Regions from separate parts of the Homo sapiens genome. Here region 2 is linked to region 1. The links are contacts of gene promoters, found by promoter capture Hi-C in blood cells and fetal thymus (Javierre and others, 2016). All regions are on one chromosome and are shown on one strand. The core of a region is centred on a gene start or on the middle of the fragment in contact, and the rest is flanking DNA. Distances in the headings are between cores, read along the strand shown.

The links. Contacts are between HindIII fragments. The CHiCAGO score rates a contact against its expected background, and 5 or more counts as called.
Region 2: the fragment with the promoter of SLC46A1 here is called in contact with a fragment that was not itself captured in region 1 in 1 of 17 cell types (M2 macrophages); the score reaches 5.8 in M2 macrophages.

What each region holds. Positions count from the first base shown.
Region 1 is chr17:27,800,560-27,807,911 of GRCh38, forward strand. No RefSeq gene overlaps it. Among named protein-coding and RNA genes, the nearest start is that of NOS2, 3.7 kb to the left of the region's middle. RefSeq lists promoters at 1-7,352, 1-1,000, 1-175, 1-7,352, enhancers at 144-172, 4,904-5,198, 4,926-5,973, 5,165-5,185, 5,509-5,568 and 2 more and cis regulatory regions at 485-507, 2,534-2,669, 3,328-3,467. The HindIII fragment of the contact is 4,636 bases long and covers 597-5,232 here.
Region 2 is chr17:28,404,902-28,412,253 of GRCh38, forward strand. SLC46A1 (solute carrier family 46 member 1) reads right to left here and starts at 1,311. Exons shown (of 5, transcript NM_080669.6): 1 at 986-1,311; 2 at 1-567. The coding sequence starts at 1,213. It overlaps LOC124903964 (a long non-coding RNA gene), which reads left to right and starts at 5,801. Exons shown (of 2, transcript XR_007065688.1): 1 at 5,801-6,410; 2 at 6,524-7,352. RefSeq lists enhancers at 1-325, 3,466-4,306 and silencers at 793-952, 1,153-1,492. The HindIII fragment of the contact is 6,961 bases long and covers 1-3,129 here.

The DNA of each region.
Region 1 (7,352 bases), core at 1,665-4,164:
CTCACCCCATGCCATCCAGAGAGTTGTTTTTGCATAAAGGTCTCTTTTTTTTTTTTTTTTTTTTGGTTTCCAAAGGGAGTGTCCCCAGCTTGTGTACAGTTAGCTAATTTATGACTGTGACTGCCAGGGCCTGTGGGTGACCTGATCTTGCTGTTACATCACTCTGTGTGGTGCCTCTTCACCCAACCCACCTCTTTCTGGTCCCAAGTCCAAGGTGGCAGTTCATCAGCAGGGTGGCTGCTAAGATAGAGGCACCACGGAGCCAGGTTTTATTTGGCCAAGCCACATGGCCTCACTTTCAGCATCTGGGAGATTTTTTCCTCAGCAGGGAGCTCTCTGGTTAATCCCTGTCCATCCTCTCACTTTTCCAGCTTGTGACAGGAGTCCAGGAAGCTGGGGGAATATTGACAGTATGGAACACACTGGAAAATGCCCAGGTTCCAGAAGGCCAGTGATATTAGATGATGCCATTATTCCAGACAGGCCTCTGAACTAGTCACTTGAGGTTTTTGGAAGGGAAAGGAAGGAAGGCTATTGGCACAGAGAGGCCTCTGAGATGTTGGTCTTACTAACACCTCATCCTTTAGCACTAGGTAAGCTTTGGTGGAATGGCAGGTAGGATTAAATTCCTTCCCTTATAATGGAAATGATCACTTCTTACATGAAAAAGTGGTAATTTCTTATAATTTCATTTCATTTATTTTATTTATTTATTTATTTTTGAGATGGAGTCTCATTCTGTCACCAAGACTGGAGCGGAGTGGCACGATCTCTGCTCATTGCAACTTCTGCCTCCCAGGCTCAAGCGATCCTCCCACCTCAGCCTCCTGAGTAGCTGGGACTACAGGCATGCACCACCACACCCAGCTAATATTTTTGTGTTTTTGGTAGAGACTGGGTTTCACCATGTTGTCCATGCTGGTCTCGAACTCTGAAGCTCAAGTGATCTGCCCACTTCAGCCTCTCAAAGTGCTAGGATTACAAGGGTTAGCCACCATGCCCGGCCTATAATTTCATTCCTTATAATGCCTGAAATACAGTATTCCCATACATATGCATTTTTCCATCATAAAAGTAAAATAACAACTACATTAGGGAGAAGTTGAGAAGCAAAGGGAAAAAAAGTCACCCTTGATCTCACCGTCCCAACACTTTGCTACCACTGTCCACTCATTTCCTTCTTGTCTTTCCCAAGTTAAATTCAGCATAATATATTAACTTTGTCAAAGATAAACTAAGAGCCACAAAAAAGACATGGATATCAGAGCTCAAGGATCTTTGTTGAGTGAATGTGTGGATGAATGAATGAAAAATAGGAGTAAACTGGAATGAGTTTTAACATATCAAAGCCATCTTCCCTTCAGGCTTCAGCTCAATGCTGCGGCTCAATGCTGCGGCTTAGAGCTCTGGCTTATGGAGCATCTGCCACGAAGAGCAATGCATTTTAGAAAGTGACAAGATGGCCGGGCGTGGTGGTTCATGCCGGTTCAGTTCAGGTAAACAGCACTCAGGGAAAGAGTCAGAATCCTGGCCTTAGGGAGTGCAAGGCCTAGAAAAATAAATGGATAATTATAGTACAGAGTGATATCTGTAGTGATGGAGGGATGGTATGGTGCTGATGTAGCTGGTTCTGCCTTGTTCAAGGAAAGTTTACAAGGGAGAGGACACCAGGGCAGGGTTTTGAGGGATGATTAGGAGTTTGCTACACTCTATTCCCTGTAGCTGCTTTCACATATTCTGGCTATACCTGCAGCAAACACATGTATTAACACATTTAATGCCCCCACCCAAGAGCCTCTGAGGGGGATACTACTATTTGCTATTCATGGAATCCTCAAGAATCCCATCTACTTGGCCTCAAAGCACTTCGTTGATTTTCCTTCAGAAAATGCAGTTATTCAGTTATGTGATCTGTCAAACATGTCACCTCAGGTGCCCCTCTAACACAGCGTCTGCTTGGTGTGGCATTCTTGACCTGTGGCAGGGTTTGAGTCCAAGCACCAGGCTTGAGGACACATTTGGAATTAGCCAGCTGGGAAGGAAATATAATTTCTCCTCAATCATCTTAAGTTATTTGTTGGGAAAGACACTGTAACAAAAGACAGATTAATAATAGAGAAAAAAAAGCAAGTTTGTTAATGTCTGTGATGCACACCACGCAGGAGAAGCCTCAGTGAAAGTAACTCAATGCTGCGGCTTAGAACTCTGGCTTATGGAGCATCTGCCATGAAGAGCAATGCATTTTAGAAAGTGACAAGATGGCTGGGCACGGTGGTTCATGCCTGGAATCCCAGCAATTTGGGAGGCTGAGGTGGGCAGATTGCTTGAGGCCAGGAGTTCGAGACCAGCCTGGGCAACATAGTGAGATCCAATCTCTACAGAAAAATTGAAAATAAATTAGCTGGGTATGGTGGCATGCCCAGCTACTGTAGTCCTAGCTACTCAGGAGGATCAGGTGGGAGGATCAATTGAGTCTGGGAGTTAGAGGCTGCAGAGAGCTATGGTCGCGCCACTGCACCCTAGCCTGTCTCAGAAAAAAAAGGAAAAAAAAGAGGGAAAGGAGGAAAGGAAAGGAAAGGAAAGGAAAGGAAAGGAAAGGAAAGGAAAGGAAAGGAAAGGAAAGGAAAAGAAAGGAAAGGAAAGAGAGAAAGAAAGAAAGAAGAGAAAGGTGACAAGACGAATGCAGTTGTAGGCTTCCAGGGGTGGCAAGCTGTGAGAAGGTAAACATGTGGAAGTGAGCTAAGGAGTAGGATAGCAAGGTTTGTTTGTATTTGTAGATGGCTCTGGTGCCATCTCTGAGCTGATAAAAGTTATCTTCTCATCTTGATGCTGGGAAAGCATCTTTCTCCAAGGAATGTTTATGGCTTGCTGCAGGCAGGACAGGGCAGTTCAGATAGCCCTCTCTCTAGCTGCTCTTTCTCAAATGCCTTCAGCTGGAGATAATCAGGATGCCATATCGGCATATCTGGGCGTGGCATGTTCTGGTTTCCTTTAGCCTGAAAGGTCCCAGGTTCGAGGCACAGCTTCACTGCTGACCTACCATGTGATCTTGGAAAAGCCACTTCTCTCTGGGCCTGACTTTTCTCGTGACAAAAGGTGATAAAAATAAAAGTAAATAAACGAGATACAAGAAAATGCTTTGAGCCATTGAGCAAAAAGTCAGCCAAGTAAGAATTTATTATCCTTGCTGGGAGTCAGAGAGTAACAATTTCCCTTTTGACAAAGAGCAAGTGGATGCCAGGACTTGCCTTCTGAAGTATCCTTCCTCAGACAGGTCCCCGTCCCACCACAAACACCTGCTTTTAAATTCCCGGTCCTCTCTCTCCCTTTGTAACATTAAATTCATGTATGTATTTTTAATTTTTAATTGGAATAAATTTCACATAACATAAAATTACCAATTAACTATTTTAAAGTGTAAAATGCAATGGTTTTTAGAATATTCACAATGTTGTATAACCATGACCACTATCCCAATCCTCTCTTAACCGGCAAATAGGAAGAGGAGGAGAGTAAAAATAGTGATAATGATTGTGATGATACACAGAGGTTAGGAGACTCACCAAGGTCACACAGCAAACAGCCTTCAAGCCGGGACAAACAGTGAGCTTCTGGTACCCTCCCCAGAGCGCCTGTCTGCAGGGTCCAGGGCTGGCCCCCTCCTGGAGGTTGGCAAGTCTCCTACGGCTTCCTGGGCCTGCACGGCTGCCTTCTTCTTGGCCCTGCCCACCCAGCAGGCCGCATTCCTGGCCTCTTCTGATGATGGATGCAGCAGGTGAATTCTGCTGGGGAGAAATCAAAGAGCACCTTGAAGGGCAGGCGGGGGACAGGTGGGCCCCCCGGAGGGTGGCGATAGAGGTTCCGAGGCTGCTGTGGAGAAATGCCCTCCTCCCTGCCTTCCCAGGCTGTCCTAGGCACCATGCTGACAGCAATCAGCACGGGAATGTCTTGGGCTCATTATCCTGGAATTGATTTTCCACTGGATTGATTTGATCTGTTTCTATGCCAGGCTGTGAAGATGGTTCAGATCCAGTTAGCCCTCGGAAGTTAGCAACTTTGAAGGCTTTTCTACAAAAACAATTGATCAGAGCTAACGTTTACTGAGCAAGGCACTTAAACATACCAAGCATTTAATCCACACAACAGTCCTATGGGGTGGGAATGATCACTAGCCCCATTTTATAGATGGGGAAATTGAGGCTAAGCAAAGCCAAATGACTTGTCCAAGACCACACAGTCAGGTGGTGGCAGGGCTACAACCCTGGAGTCCCAGCTTGCACTTGCTCTGGTGCTTGCTCCATAAATACAGCCAGGCCCTGGGCTTTCCATTTATTATCTCAGTTAATCCTCCAACAACGTTGTGTGGCAGGTACTATTATAATACTATCCCCAATTCACCAATAAGGAAACCGAGACACAGAAAGTTTGAGCGACCAGCTCAATGTCACTCAGTTTGTAAGTGGCAAAGCTGAGGACTGACCCAGGTCTGAGACCTTGACTGGACCCCACTTGTGCGCCCACTGTGTGCTTACCCATTTTGCTACAGGTGAGTACACCCAGGGGCAAGGAGAGGTGACAATGAGAGAGTGGGAAACTGAGATCAAGGTAGGAGCTGAGGATTACCTGGGGTTGAATGTTCTCCCCTCCATGTCAGTGTCTGGTGCCAGCTCTGTGCAAGGCCATGGAAGGAGGAGACGGAGTTCCTACTGTGTGCCCCGCCTCACAGAAAGTGATAAAAATTTTATTTTAGAAATATATTTAAGGTTTAAAGAGAGCCAGTTTAAGGTAAAATGTTTAAGCAAATAACAGTATAGGTGCATGCAGATGTGACACAAATGATAAAGGTGGGACGTGAAGGAAACACAGGGGCGTGGCTCTTACTCTCTATTTGTGTGTGTGCATGTCCCGTGGCGAGTCACGTGTCCTGTGGGGCCTTCACTCCACTCAGCTGTCAAAGGAAGGCATTGAGAAGAGGCATTCCTGGGACCCTCCCGGTTCTGAGGCCCTAACAAGCTCAAGTCCCCAGACCGTGAGCCCTATGTCATTTGTCAAGTGACCACTGGAGGGCGTGAGTCACACAAATTCCAGCAGCTCCGAAGCTGAGGTCTTCCCCGGTTTCCACCACCTTGCCTGACTCGGAGATGACGGAAGTGAAGTGAAGGGATTTTTACTGGAAACGCCCGGTGGTCACTCCAGGATGGACAGGCCCAGGGTGGACCAGGAAGGTGGACAAGCTTTGCTGAGTCCCTGGAGTGTGACTCAAGCTGGCTGGTGCAGGCCTGGCACTTTGCTGCTGTTTCTTTTAAAAGCCTCGTTTCTTGTCAAGCCTCCCCAGAACACCCTCCCTTCCCTGCCCTCCCGTTTTGCTTCCTGGGTGCCCGTCCTTCTAGGCGGAGAAACAACAAACAGAGTGGCACCTGGGGTAGTCCCAGGGTGTGATGGTTCAAGGGGCAAGATTCAGGGGCAAGTAGTGTATCTGGGAAGTGCAGGGGACATCAGGAGGGGAATGAGGAAGTGAGACAGAGAAAGGGAGGCAGCTGGTAAAAGTACTATAGGGCAGCTTTCACGATTTGCAACCAGACTCAGCCCCACCAGGGAACTTGAAAAATGGTGCAGAAAACAGGGCTTCAAATGATCCCATCCAAGGGGCCAGGGGCTGGGCTACTGACCCAGCAGTTCCAGAGCATCACTCATTGAGGCTGCTCCCAGGGAGGTTAAATTCCCAAGGCCTGCTGTGGGCAGAGCAGCCTTCCTTGGTTCTGGGAAAGCCCTCTAGAATTCACAAAGTGCACTGGAATGAGACGAAGACAGACGTCACTGCTACAGGGGGTTTAGAATTGGGTCAAATGGAGGAAGAGAGGTACCTCCTCCCCAGGTACAGCCTCTGAGGGTGCTGGATGCTGATCCAAGAAGTTCTAAATGCCAAGAGCTTCAGCTAAGCCCACCCTCTTGTATCCTTCCCTAAGAAGCGCTGCATCTTTGGTTAGGCCACATAAGCCCTCCGGGCCTCCCTTTCCTCAGTTAAGGGTCTCTGAGGCCTTTCCAGCTGTGGTATCTGGGCTTTCTGAGTCTCCCCACCTCATACATATCTGGTCTTTGATGCTCTTGGAAAAGTTATCTTCCCCACCAGAGTGCCCCTGAAAGGCAGAATGTAGCAACGACTGGCAACTTCTGCAGAGCCTGACCACTGTGTGCACAGAGATGTCTGGAGCATCGCTCTCTACGAGAGCCAGAAACAACCCAAGTGATCAGCATAGAGAAAGGCACACCAGGCCAGCTTTATAGTGTACCATTACGTGGCCAAAAAAAAAGTGTATTAAGAATTTTTTGGCCAGGTGTGGTAGCTCATGCCTGTAAATTCTAGCATTTTGGGAGGCTAAGATGGGAGGATTGCTTGAGCCCAGGAGTTTGAGACCAGCCTTGCCAACATGGCAAAACCCTGTCTGTACAAAAAATACAAAAATTACAAAAATTAGCCAAGTGTGGTGGTGAACACCTGCAGTCCCAGCTACTCGAGAGGCTGGGGTGGGAGGATCGCTTGAGACCAGGAGGTCGATGCTGCAGTGAGCTGTGATTGTACCATTGCACCCCAGCCTGGGCAACAAAGTGAGACCCTGTTTCAAAAAAAAGGATTTATTTAGCTGGGCATCGTGACAAGCACCTGTAGACCTAGCTACTAACTGAGGTGGGAGGATCACTTGAGCTGAGGAATTAAGAGACCGCAGTGAGCTATGATTGCACCATTGCACTCTCCAGCCTAGGCAACAGTGAGACTCTGATCTCTTAAAAAAAAAAAAAAAGAGTCTTTATGATAAGAAATAATGTTCATGATATCAGTAGAAAAATGATAACCCCTAACATGTAAAATAAAGACAGAAAAAATGTGAGAAAAAAATACTAAAATATTAAAAAGTGGTAGAATTATGGGCAATAGTTATCTTTTCTTTACCCTTCTCTGTATTTGCTATCTGTGCATATGTTAGTTTTATAATATAAAAAGTGACTCCTTACTTTTTGAAATACTATCTCAGACGTGTGGCTGTGCCAGTAATTCACCTTTCCCAAAGGAAAAGAGCCTCTAGCACCCATTTTCATTACAGGAGGCACAGAGAGGGCGGCTGCCCACGCCCCTGGCTGTTCTGCAGGAGTTACACCGGTTTTCTGAGCATCGTCCGTGAGTTTTCCAAGCTGGGCCCTGGGGATCCAGTGGTGAGTGATGGCAGACAAGCTGGCTGTCTCTCTCCCTCCCCACTCTGCTGCCAATAGAGATGGCAAGATGAGTCCCAGAGCCTGTTGGAGGCGGTGCATTTGGGGGACAGGGGCTGCCTCCTTAAAAACAGAGTGGAAACCAG
Region 2 (7,352 bases), core at 61-2,560, 600 kb after region 1:
TTTCCTGGACTTCTCTGGGGCGGGAGCCACATAGAGCTGGACAATGGATCGGTGGTGACGGAACGTGAAGAGCCGGGTGGACTTTGGCTCCTTTAAGGTCTCACCAAAGCAGAAAGCTGCATAGAGAGTCATGGCTATCAGCAAGGCCAAGGCCAGCCAGAAGGGGTTGGCATAACCCTGGGCCCGGAGCCAGTGGCCCCCGAGGAGGCTTGCCAGCATCCCAGCCACCCCGATGCTGGCTTCCAGCAGGGCCATCCGGAAGGTGCGGCTGCGACTGGAGCTGACATCTGCCACGGACGCAAAGCTAGCAGCCAGAAGGCCACCGAAGTCGCCGAGGAGGGCACAAAGGATGCGACCCAGCACGAAGTAGCCGACGTGGAGCTGCAGCTGCACCACAAAAACGGACACTAGGGCCTGGAGCAGCAGGCCCAGCGAGGCCAGCACTAGCAGCGGGCGGCGGCCCACACTGTCGCTCCAAGCTCCCAGCAGGGTGGACGAGAAGAGCCCCACCAGGAAGCCGCCCACGTTCATGTAGAGGGTCCAGTGGGAGGTAAGGGTCTCCACTTCCTGTAGGGGCACAATGACCAGGGTGCGGTTCCTCACTCTGGGTTCCACAATCCCCAAATCCTCGCCATCCCGGGAGCTACAGGGATGAGGACTTCCTTTGGAGCCCTAAACCTCAGAGAATCTTAGCACAGCTTTCAAAATCTGCCAGTGGAGAGGGGGAAGGACATGGACCAAGGCCCCATTCCCTTTCCTTTCCCCCCCCTTTTGTTAACCTGCAAGGCCAGACTTTAGCTCAGCTTTTCGCATCCCACCCGCTGAGGTTCTCGGTCAGGCCCCTTTGCTCTGGTCCCGCCCACCATCCAAAATGCACCCTCCCTCCAGTTACCCGCCACTACCATTACGCAGGCCCCGCCCCTCCGCTGCCCCCACGCTCCAGACCAGGGCCCTCCACCTGCCAGGCTCCTCGCCGCCCCGCTACCTGCATGGTGGGGTCCGCGCTGCGGTTGCTGCAGCCCCCCCTTTGGCGGGTGCCATTGTAGCCGAGGTCGGCGCTGAAGCGGTGCCACAGATACTGCGTGGTGAGCGGGCCCTGCAGGACCAAGGCAAAGTTGGCCAGGAAGACCAGCGGCTCTACCGGGCCCCGGCACAGCACGGCAGCCGCAGGGCGGGCGCGGGGCTTTTCCGGGGGGCTCGCGCTCCCCTCCATGTGCGTGCGCGGCGGAGCTGTCGCCAGGCGGGCGGCGGGGCGCGCGAGCGACTCGCTGCCTGGGACCAGCGACGCGTGGCGTGGGGCTTGCGCTGTCTGCGCCTGCGCCCGGCGTCCCTCCTTAAATGTCCGGCGGGGAGGGGCCTGTGACCTGAGGCCACCGGACTCTCGCCGCGGGTGCACCTGGCTGGGCGTGGGCCAGCGAGGGGCCCGGCACCCCCAGCCCGCGGGATGACCTCACCTGTAAAGTGTGCGTAGACACCGCCCTGCAGCCCTCCCTCCCGGCCCAGACACACCACAGATAACAAGAATATCAACAATTAACATGTATTGACCACTTACTATGTGCTGGGCACGGTATTAAACCCTTTTTGTGCGTTGGTCTCCCGATAACTCTACAGGCTAGCCAATATTAACCATCGCTATCTACCGCTGAGGAAACGAGGTCATCGGGTACTCAAGGCAGAGCTGGAAGAGCACATGACTCCTGATGCTGCTGATGTTCTGCGCTGTAACAGAGAGGCAGCTGGAGAGGATCGGAGTGGGCTGAGCCCAGCTGCCTGGGTTGGAGCACCTAGGCTCTGCCACTACCTTCGGCATGCCACTTACCACCCTGAGCCTCTGTTTTTTCATCTGTAAAATGGAGTTGCTAACAAAACATGTCTCAAAAAGTTGTGGAAAAGCAGTGTCTGGTATATTCAAAGTGCTATTATTGCTATTAACAGGCTGTCACGTCTGGGAGTGGTGGCTCACACCTGTAATCCCAGCACTTTTGGAGGCTGAGGCGCATGGATCGCTTGAACCCAGGAGTTCGAGACCAATCTGGGCAACATGGTAAAACCCTGTCTCTACAAAAAATACACAAAAATTAGCCAGGCGTAGTAGCAGATACCTGTAGTCCCAGGTACTCGGGTGGCTGAGGTGGGAGGATCAATTGAGCCCAGGAGGCAGAGGTTGCAGTGGGCTGAGATCGCACCACTGCACTCCAGCCTGGGTGACAGAGCAAGACCCTGTCTCAAAAAATATAAAATAAAAATAAAATAAAAAACAAGCTGTCACTTGCTCCACTCCTGCCCTAGGATCTTTTCCTGGGAAACTAGTCTTGTTTCTGGGGTCAGGCAGGGCCTGGCTCTGCAGTTCCCTTAGAGAAGATGGGGGAGGGCCTGGGAGGTCCTTGGGTGTGAACCTATGCTCCTGGGTGGCTCCCATTATAGGAATTAGGCCAGAAGGCAGTCACCTGCTCTGCTGCTGAGGAGGTCAGACCCTGTCTGGGCCTCTGTTTTATTGCCTGTAAAAAGGAACAGCATTACCTTCCTTACTCCCCTATCTTTCATTCATTCAGCTCATTTACTGAGTGCCCCTTACGTGCCAGGCACTGTGCTGGGGGACTCCGGGACCACAACAGGAAAGGAAATAGACAAAGCCCTCACCAGGCCCGTTAGTTTCTAGAATGGTGGGAGAGGAAAAATAGTCAAAGAATCCTACTAATTGATACAAAATTCCAACCGTGGAAAATAGTTTTGAACTCCAAGGGTGCTAATTCAGGGGCTGGAGGTAGGGGGAGCAGAATCAGGAAAGGCCACCTTCCCTGAGAACAGAGCAGCTGAGTGGGTTTCTGGAGGCAGGTCCTGACAGGCCTGATTCTTGGGAGGATGGATGGCTCCAATTCTGGCCACTGTGACTGTGCCTGGGCCTGTTGGAGCTTGTTAGCTACCCCACCTCCCCTGAGCCAGGAGTCCGAGACTCAGGATGGGTAGGTGCTGGCTAGATACTAGTGAACTGAATAACCTCCCCCTGCAAGCTGCCCCCACCTGTGGTCCCCTAGAGAGAGGAAATTCCACATTAAACATTCAAGCCTCTGGATTGGCTCCACTCTCCTCCCTCCCCTTCCAACTCCTCCCTACCACTTACACAAAAGCTTGGCCCAGTTAGGTCAGCTGCAGTGAGGGAGGGGTACTTGGCTAAATCCTTGGAATTATTTCTTAGATAAAGAACTAAGGCTAGGAGAGGCCAAGGTCCCTCATCAGGAATGGGACAGGGTGTGGCTCATCCCAGAGCCAGAGCCTGCAGTACCCACTAGGGTAGAGGTCTTTTCTAACTCCTTGAAAACAGCTGCAATCAGGTCACTGGCCTGCTCAAAACCATCCTGGGCTTTCCATTTCGCTCAGTGAGAGCCAAGTCCTTATGAGAGCCCTAAGGCCACCTACCTCTTCTCTGTCCCTCTCCCCTGCTTTGTCCCCCTCAATCCTTGTGCTCAAGCCATGCTGGCCTCCTGCTTTAGGGCCTTTACACTTGCGGTAACTACTACCTAGAATGCTCTTCTGGATATCTGCCTGGCCGGCTCCCTCACTTCCTTCAAGTCTCCACTAAAATGTCACCTGACCCTCCTATATAAGCAACTTCCCTCCTTCCTTGCTTCCTGGCACTCCCTAATCCTTTACCCTGTTTCATTTTTTTCCATAGTGTTTATCACCATCTGAATTATAACTTTCTGGTTTCTTTGTTGTCCATCTCCCTTTACTAGAGGTCATGATGGCAGGGACTTTGTTTTTTCATCACTACCATATCCCCAGCATCTAGAATAGTGCCTGGCGTGTGGTAGATGCTCAAAAGACGATCGCTGAATGAACTCTCAGTCTCAAGGAGAGGAGATTCCGCAGCTGGAGTCCCAGAGCATGTGGAGAGGGTTGCCAATGTTGAGCTGCACTGTGGAGTCCAGAGCCCAAGAATCTCCACCTAGAAGGAAGCTGAGAAATCACATCTCCACCCATCCAACCATTTAAAAGACAGGGAAACTGAGGTCCAGAGGGAAAGGTGACTTACCCAGAGAGAGCTAAAAAGTCCTGCCTGTCAAATTTCTACAGGAAAGGAGAAGCTATTGCAAAGGAAAAGATCTGTAGACTTATTTCCATCAGAACATAAAGCCTTAATTCAAAGGCAAATGACAAACAAAGTCATTTGTTTGTCATTAAAAGAAAGAAAAATCTTTCTTTTAAAATATGGCCGGGCGCAGTGACTCATGCCTGTAATCCCAGTACTTTGGGAGGCCGAGGCGGGTGGATCACCTGAGGTCAGGAGTTCAAGACCAGCCTCAACATGGAGAAACCCCATCTCTACTAAAAATACAAAATTAGCCGGGCGTGGTGGTACATGCCTGTAATCCCAGCTACTCGGGAGGCTAAGGCAGGAGAATTGCTTGAACCCGGGAGGTGGAGGTTACGGTGAGCCGAGATCATGCCATTGCACTCCAGCTTGGGCAACAAGAGCGAAACTCCATCTCAAAAAAATAAAATAAAATAAAATAAAATATGACAAAGGGTTACTATTTTAACTATATGTGATAATAACCTGAAGATCCCTCCCTCAGTAAACAGATAAAAACCAAGCACTGAGAGGTTGTAACACAGAACATGCATGTGAGACACACAAATGAGCTCTTCTCCAGCTTCTGAATAGTGAGAAAAACACTGTGCCTTTGATCTTGTTCTTTGCAGCCAACACATTAGCAATGATTTTGTTTAAAATGAGAATGCTCAAAGCTGGTAAGGCTACAGTGAAACAAATACTGCTGAAGGAGTGTAAATACACCCTTTCAGGAAAAAATTTGGTAGCCTTTAATCAAGACCCTTGAAGCCTCTAATTCTACATGTAGGTCTCTATCTAAAGGAAATAGTCTCAAGTACAGAAAAAAGCCTTATGTGCTAAGATATTCTCCCATAACATTATATTGACAAGAGTAAAAAAAAAAAAAAAAAGATAAACAACCTATGTGTCCAACAGTAGCGAAATGGCTGAGTAAATTATAGTCTATCCACTCCATGAATATGAGTCATTAAAATGATATGTTCAAAGAGATTATAATAATATGGAAAACTGCTTACATAATAATTTGTATGTAGAAAAAACAGAGAGCTTGTTTATGTGGTATGGTCATAGGCATAGAAAAGAATTGCACTGAGTAAAGACTGGAAACCATGGCACCAATATATTAACAGAAGTCCTCTCTGCGTGGTAGTAGGGTTAGGTAAGATTCTCTTTTCTTCTATTTAAAATGTTTTCAACCCTTCTGATATAAACAGATATAAACATATGTTTTAATCATGGAAAACATAAACATTTTAAAAATCTGATGATACTCCTCTCCTTCAAATGTATTCTGGCTCAATTGCCAAATATCAGCTTCATGCTCCTTGATGTTCTGGAGACATCACTAGGAGCTGACTTTTATTGAAGCAGGCAGCACCATACTGAGGGCATTACATACATTATCTTACTGAATCCTGACTACAGCCTTATGAGATAGGTATTACAATTTTTTTTTCTTTGAGATGGAGTTTCACTCTTGTTGCCCAGTCTGGAGTGCAATGGCGTGATCTCGGCTCACTGCAATCTCTGCCTCCCAGGTTCAAGCGATTCTCCTGCCTTGGCTTCCCAAGTAGCTGGGATTACAGGCATGTGCCGGGACACCTGGCTAATTTTGTATTTTTAGTAGAGACAGGGTTTCACCATGTTGGTCACGCTGGTGTCAAACTGCTGACCTCAAGTGATCCGCCCACCTCGGCCTCCCAAAGTGCTGGGATTACAGGTGTGAGCTACCGCGCCCGGCCAGGTATTATTATTTTTACAGATGATGTAACTACAGCATAGAGGGATGAAGGGAAATGGTTTTTCTCACTCTGGGTACAGGTTTTCTTTTCCTTACACCTACCTGTTCTAGTGCTTTCTGTTATTCTAAGCCTTAGTATATGTTAGTCTCTTTGCCAGTAATACCCTTCCTACTTTGCTTGGCCTATTCAGCTCCTTTTCATCCTTCAAAACCCACCTCTGTGTCTCACTTCTAGGCGGAATTAGTCATTGGCTAATATGTACTTCCACAATACTGGGTTCATACATTTAACCCTGGTTTTAAACTTAACCTGGTTATAAATATGTGTTCCCAGGTTTGTCTCCTCTTAACCCCTACCTATGTCCTGCCTCCAGATTTGAGGGCAGAGAAAATTTTTTTCACCTCTGTATTCCCTATCCCTGGGCTTGACATGCAATAAGATAAAATGTTAAATAACTTTGATGACATGCATCAACTCCAGTCAATTGATTGAATCTGTCTGGATTGCTACATTGAGATGGGCTATTTTTCCAGCTTTGTGGGAAGGAGTCCTGCGATTCATTCTTGATGTCTGCCATGGGCTTGGGAATGGTAAGTACTGGCACTAAAAACTGTGTTGTCCAACCCCAGGATATGTACTCAGTAAATTTTGAGAGGCTTTGGGGAAGTGCCTGGAAGTCATAAGGGTTTCTCTTTGCTTCCAGTTGGATAATGCCTACGAGAGGCTGTCTATACAACCACTGTGACAGAGAAGATTGCAACAGGGATTCTTCATCCAAACAGCAGTCTTATCACAGCCTCCACCCAAAACCTATGCCTCCTTTTTGCAAGAGGCCACTTACAGCTTCCAAAGAGCTCTTCATGATTTTAGACACTGAGAGGAAGGAAGGAGACAGCATGAGAGAAAAGCTATTTTCCTTTTTGAGATGTTGCTTCTCACATAGCAACCCTAAAAGTCAAAGCAGCATCCTTGTCACAACTAAGGGTGTTCCCAGCACTGAGTAGAAGCTGCAACTATGCCCCCATCGCTGTGAGACTTTGACCAAGTCCCTTTCTGGCTTCAATTTTCTCATCAATGAAATAATTTCTGGGCCTCTATTTCCTTGTCTGTGAAAAATGAAGTAATAATATCTACCTATGGGGTGGATGTTTGGGTCAAATGAGAAAATATGTATGGCTGTGAACTTTATGTGGCTGTGTCCAGGTGCCAGAGATGATGATTGCTGTTGAACTGGGCTTGAAGGTAGGAGGGATTTCACCAGAAAGAAGTGAGGCTGTCCCAAGTGAGAGGAAAAGTTGGGCCTTACAGAGGGATGCTACCCAGAATTCAGAGAAGTACAGGGCTAGAGGTGCATTAAGTGCATAAAGATGTCATTACCGCATGGGGGAGATTTCACAAAACACTTTCTGTCTTTGGCCTCCTGCCCTTGGTTTCATTTTAAACACTTTCCTTTTGCTAGAGCCTTTGCATCTATCCATCTATTCATTTAGCATCTACCGCCTGCCAGGCCCACTGCTAGGTGCTGAGGTTAC